Regions from separate parts of the Homo sapiens genome. Here region 1 is linked to region 2. Evidence: promoter capture Hi-C in 16 types of primary human blood cells and fetal thymus (Javierre and others, 2016). All regions are on one chromosome and are shown on one strand. The core of a region is centred on a gene start or on the middle of the fragment in contact, and the rest is flanking DNA. Distances in the headings are between cores, read along the strand shown.

Region 1 (2,700 bases), core at 167-2,666, 440 kb before region 2:
GGGTAAGGGGAGGGAACTTAGAGGATGGGTCAATAGGTGCAGCAAACCACCATGGCACATGTAACAAACCTGCACGTTCTGCACGTGTATCCTGTTTGTTTTGTTTTGTTTAGAAGAAATAAAAAACAAACAAAACTTGGGAGGCCAAGGCAGGCGGATCACTTGAGGTCAGGAGTTCGAGACCAGCCTGGCCAAAATGGTGAAACCCCGTCTCTACTAAAAACACACACACAAAAAAAATTAGCCGGGAGTGGTAGCGGGCGCCTGTAGTCCCAGCTACTCAGGAGGCTGACGCAGGAGAATGGCGTGAACCCGGGAGGCGGAGCTTGCAGTGAGCCGAGATCGCGCCACTGCACTCCAGCCTGGGCGAGAGCGAGACTGTCTCAAAAAAAAAAGAAAAAAAATTAACCCCTTACTCACATTAAAACTGTATTTTGGGGGTAATTTACATAAGCCACACAATTATCCTTTTAATTAAGATCTAATATTCTTTTTTTTTTTTTTGAGACAGAGTCTCGCTCTGTCGCCAGTCTGGAGTGCAGTGGTGGGATCTCGGCTCACTGCAAGCTCCGCCTCCCGAGTTCAAGTGATTCTCCTGCCTCAGCCTCCCGAGTAGCTGGCACTACAGGCACGCCGCCACCATGCCCAGCTAATTTTTTTTTTTTTTTTTTTTTTTTTGAGACGGAGTCTCGCTCTGTCACCCAGGCTGGAGTGCGGTGGCGCAATCTCGGCTCACCGCAACCTCCGCCTCCCGGGTTCAAGCGCTTCTCCTGCCTCAGCCTCCCGAGTAGCCGGGGTTACAGGCAGGCACCACCATGCCCGGCTAATTTTATTTGTATTTTTAGTAGAGACGGGTTTCTCCATTGTTGGTCAGGCTGGTATCGAACTCCCGACCTCAGGTGATCCACCCGCCTCGGCCTCCCAGAGTGCTGGGATTACAGGCGTGAGCCACCGCGCCCGGCAATTTTTTTGTATTTTTAGTAGAGAAGGGGTTTCACCATGTTGGCCAGGATGATCTAAATCTCTTGACCTGATCCGCCGGCCTCTGCCTCCCAAAGTGCTGGGATTACAGGCGTAAGCCACCGCGCCTGGCCCATTTTTCTTCTTTTATCTGATAACCTTACTCCCCTCCACAAACACACAGCCAAAGAAACGAATTGTGTCGCTCTTGAATCATAGAATAATTCTAAATTATGTTACGATTAAACAGGAGGGGCGGGGCCCTGTCCATCACGTGACTCTCTCGGTGCTGTCTCCGGCCGTTGATTGGCCTGGGCGGGGAGGGCGGCCGTTGATTGGTTCGGGCCCACTCGCGCGGGCGCCACTCTCTTTGTCTGACAAGAGAGTCGTGAAGCCTCCGCGGTCCTAGAGGGGCCGCTGGCTGGGACGCTTCGCTCGGCGCGCGCAGGTGGAGCCAGCGAGAGGCTCTGAGGCTGCCAGAGTGGTTGTGTCTGTTCCTCCGGTAAGGGGTGATTCGCCGAGGGGCGCGGACCAGACAGACCTCGGGTCAGGCCCGGGAACCCCGAGAGGAGAGCCCAGCCCCTGGTGGAGGCGGCTTGGCGGAGATTCGGAGCCGTCAGCAGGTTTGGGGAGAAGGAAACGAGTGTTGTGGGGGGCGTGGGTGCGGGGGGTAGGCCACTGCGCACACCCCCGGCTCGCAGGGGACGCTCCGGGTTTGTGCGGCGGCTCTCGGGGCCTGTGGCACCAGCTTTTGAGTATTTTTGGCGGTGTCAAGTCTTCGGCAGCGAGAGGAGCAAAGTCCGAAGAATGAATGGATGGTGAACGCCTGGACTTGGTTTTGTTAGAGTGGGAGATGAGCCGTGGTTGTTAGTGGAAGGTGTTCACGTGATTGTGAAGCGGCATTTTGGATTTTGTCAAAAGTTAACAGTCCCCTCCAGTTAAAGTTTTAAGAGTTTATTGTGCATGCAGAGGAACAGCTGGCAAATTGTTCCAATGGCAGCTTGGAAAGCTAAATGAGGAAGTGCAGTGATCTTGATTGTAATTGGCCATTATCAACTTGCATTCCTTCTAGGGTAAGTCGAGCTGGATCAGCCTCGCATCTGTAGCTGATTGGTTCAGTTTATCATGCGGACGAGAAAAAAGCTTCTTTCCTGGTCAGCGCACACTTTTCAGGGAAATAAGGAATTGTTGTTGCTGTTGTGTTTGAGACGAAGTGTTACTCTGTTGCCCAGTTTGGAGTACAATGGGCCAATCTCGACTCACTGCAACCTCCAACTCCCGGGTTCAAGCGATTCTCCTGCCTCAGCCTCTCGAGTAGCGGGGACTACAGGCACGCGCCACCATGCCCGGCTAATTTTTGTATTTTTAGTGGAGACTGGGTTTCACTATGTTGGCCAGGCTGGTCTTGAACTCCTGACCTCATGATCCGCCCGCCTCGGCCTCCCAAAGTGCTGGGATTTACAGGTGTGAGCCACCACGCCCGGCCTGTTGTTTTTAAGAGAGACAGGGTCTTGCTCTGTCACCCAGGGTGGAGTGTAGTGGTGCCATCATAGCTCATTGCAGTCTCCAACTCCTGAACTCAAGGGAGAAATCAATGTATTTTAAATGCCTTACATGGCTGTGGGTGGTTGGCCTAGGGCCGTACCCAAAACATGGACTCCATTTAATTTTTCATTAGCAAGTCTGACATTCAGATGCACAGCCTTCACAAACACATTCAGTAAATATAGTGCAGGGGTG
Region 2 (2,773 bases), core at 15-2,514:
AGCTTCACCCAGGGGCAGTTTATGTTTTTCTAACTAACTTGGGGTGGGGATGGAATGAAAGGTGGTTGAATAGGGCAGTGACTAAGCAGAGGAGGATGGAGAGATGGGCGGATATCAGGGAATTCCGCCCAGTGACCTGGCTCCTGAACACCTACGAAGTCAACCTTGTGACATTCAGCCCATCCCAGTGTAACCCTTACCCATCCACTCCTGTCCTGTTGGGCCATTGTGTTTAATCCTGAAATCCCACCTCTTCTAAGAAGTCTTCTCAGATTAGTTGTGGCAGAGTGAAAAGTGTAAAGGATTAGGGGTTAGAAGACCTCAGTTCAAGCATAGCCACTTCCTAGTTCTGTGACCTCGGGGGCATGTAACCTCACATCTCTGTGGCACAGTTGCCTCATCTTCAAAAAGGGAATAACAGAATCCACCTAATAGGATGTCTATGAAGATTAAAGAATTACAGTATGAAAAATGCTTAGAACTGTGGGTGGTACGTAAGAAGTAATGAACAACTGATAGCTATTACTGCTGAAGATGGAAGATTTAAGGGCTATGTTCCCCTTTCATACCCATCCACTTATATTTCCCTCGGCCCCCACCCACAAGTGTATTTTCCCTTCCATTTATCTGATGGGTCCTCTCCATGTCTTTTGCTGGCTACCAACCATTGGTGTTTCCCAAGCTTCTCTTTGTGCCTTTTTTTACTCTCTATGTGGTCCTCCTAGGAGAATCTCATCTTCTTACTTCTTCCATGACTTCAAGAACAGGCTGAGGATTCTAAAATATTATCTCTAGCCTCCAAGGCACCCCACCTCCTGTCCCTCTTCCTTGGACTTCCTGTCACAATTACTTCACACTCAGTACATTCCACAAGCATGGGATCTTCTGTCCTAAGACTACGCTTCCTCCTGTGTACCTTACCTCAGTTAACCTGACAGTCATCTACCTGCCATCTGAAGCAGAAATCTGAACTACCATCCAAGACTCCTCTCTCTCTCACCCACCAAGTCTAATTGATCACCAAGTCATTCAACTCCAGCTCATTATCACTCCATCCCTCCCTCTCCATCATCCCTGCCCTGAACTAATTCAGGTCTTTATTACCTCCTGCTTAAAATGGTACAAGAGCAGCCTAATTAGTCTTCTCTTCCATTCATCCACGTGGATGTCAAAGTTACCTGTCTAAAACAAAAAAAACGATCATATCATTCCCTGCCTTAAAACCCTTTTATAACTCCCCACTGCCTGAAAGAGAAAGTTCAATCTTTTTACTATGGCAAACAAGATCCTTCATGATAAGGCCCTGCCTTTTTCTTCAAGCTCATGGCCCACCATCCTCCTTCCCATGCTCCATGCTCCAGAAGTACTGAGCAACCTCCAGTCCTCTCACACACCACATGCTATCCCACTCCACCACATTTGGAATATGCTGTTCCTTTGGCCTGAAATACCTTCTTTCCTACCTCTACTCACCCTTGAAGAGCTAACACATTTAACTCCTCAACGGAGCCTTTCCTCACTCCTCAGTGATCACTCCGACCTCAGACCTTCTGTACACTTGGTAAATACTTCAGCTACTCTCACACACACTGAAATTAATGTTGTACACGCTTAAGTTCCTTACAAGACAAAGCCCATGTCTTTCTCATCCACTTATGTCCAGATTCTAAAACAATGTTTGGCAAATAGTAAGCATCAATAAACGTTACTGAGTGAAGGAATGAACATACACTTTCTAGTCCAGCTTTGTGTCTGTTTCCTGTTCATAGTCAGCTGGTACAACTGTACAGTATTTTACAGTTTCCAAACATTTTCACTGTGTCATTAAATTCATGTGTTTGGCCAGGAAAGCTTGCTCACGCCTGTAATCCCAGCACTTTGGGAGGCCAAGGTGGGTGGATCACCTGAGGTCAGGAGTTCGAGACCAGCCTGACCAACATAGTGAAACCCTGTCTTCACTAAAAATACAAAATTAGCTGGGCATGCTGGCAGGTGCCTGTAATCCCAGCTACTCGGTAAGCTGAGGCAGGAGAATCACTTGAACCCGGGAGGTGGAGGTTGCAGTGAGTTGAGATCTCACCACTGCATTCCAGCCTGGGCAACAAGAGCGAAACTCCATCTCAAAAACAATAATAATAAAATAAATAAATAAATTCATGTGTTCATGTACTTACTGCATATCAATTCTGCTGGAGACCACTGGAGTTACACCATCAGTAATGGGAGGGGGTGGGGCTACTCTGGAAAGGATGATCAGGGAAGGTCTTCAAGCTAAAAGCTAAAAGGATCTAAAGGATAGATGTGGGTAGAGAAAGAGAACAGACTTGAAACAAAAGCAAGAAAGCCAGTATGGCTGAAGCAGAGTAAGGTAAAGTGATTTATTCAACCGGAGCTTCTTAACCCATGAGATAGGACAGATAATCCCCAAATTCAAATGTTACAGGATTTTCCCAACTGATGAAGGAAGCTAGTAACAAAACCCAGCCTCATCATTACAAGCTAGGCTTTTCCCAAATCATCAGCTGTCTATGACATTTACAGATACAGACAGGCACTGTCCAATACAGTATCCATTTAGCCATACAAGCACCTGAAACGTGGATATTCCAAACTGCTATGTGTTGTAAATGTAAAATACACACCAATTTCAGACCTATTATGAAAAAGGAGTATAAAATATCTCATTGAGGCCGGGCGTGGTGACTCACACCTTAATCCCAGCACTATGGGAGGCCAAGCGGGGCAGATCACTTGAGGTCAGCAGTTCGAGACC

What was found. The method cuts DNA at HindIII sites, captures the fragments that hold promoters and counts their contacts. A CHiCAGO score of 5 or more calls a contact.
Region 1: the fragment with the promoter of ZNF789 here is called in contact with a fragment that was not itself captured in region 2 in 2 of 17 cell types (erythroblasts and M1 macrophages); the score reaches 8.5 in erythroblasts.

The regions. Positions count from the first base shown.
Region 1 is chr7:99,471,474-99,474,173 of GRCh38, forward strand. ZNF789 (zinc finger protein 789) reads left to right here and starts at 1,417. Exons shown (of 5, transcript NM_213603.3): 1 at 1,417-1,583. RefSeq lists enhancers at 657-816, 1,037-1,126, 1,417-1,706. The HindIII fragment of the contact is 10,687 bases long and covers 1-2,101 here.
Region 2 is chr7:99,915,598-99,918,370 of GRCh38, forward strand. The region is part of intron 1 of TRIM4 (tripartite motif containing 4); the gene reads right to left. Among named protein-coding and RNA genes, the nearest start is that of TRIM4, 2.5 kb to the right of the region's middle. The HindIII fragment of the contact is 1,169 bases long and covers 681-1,849 here.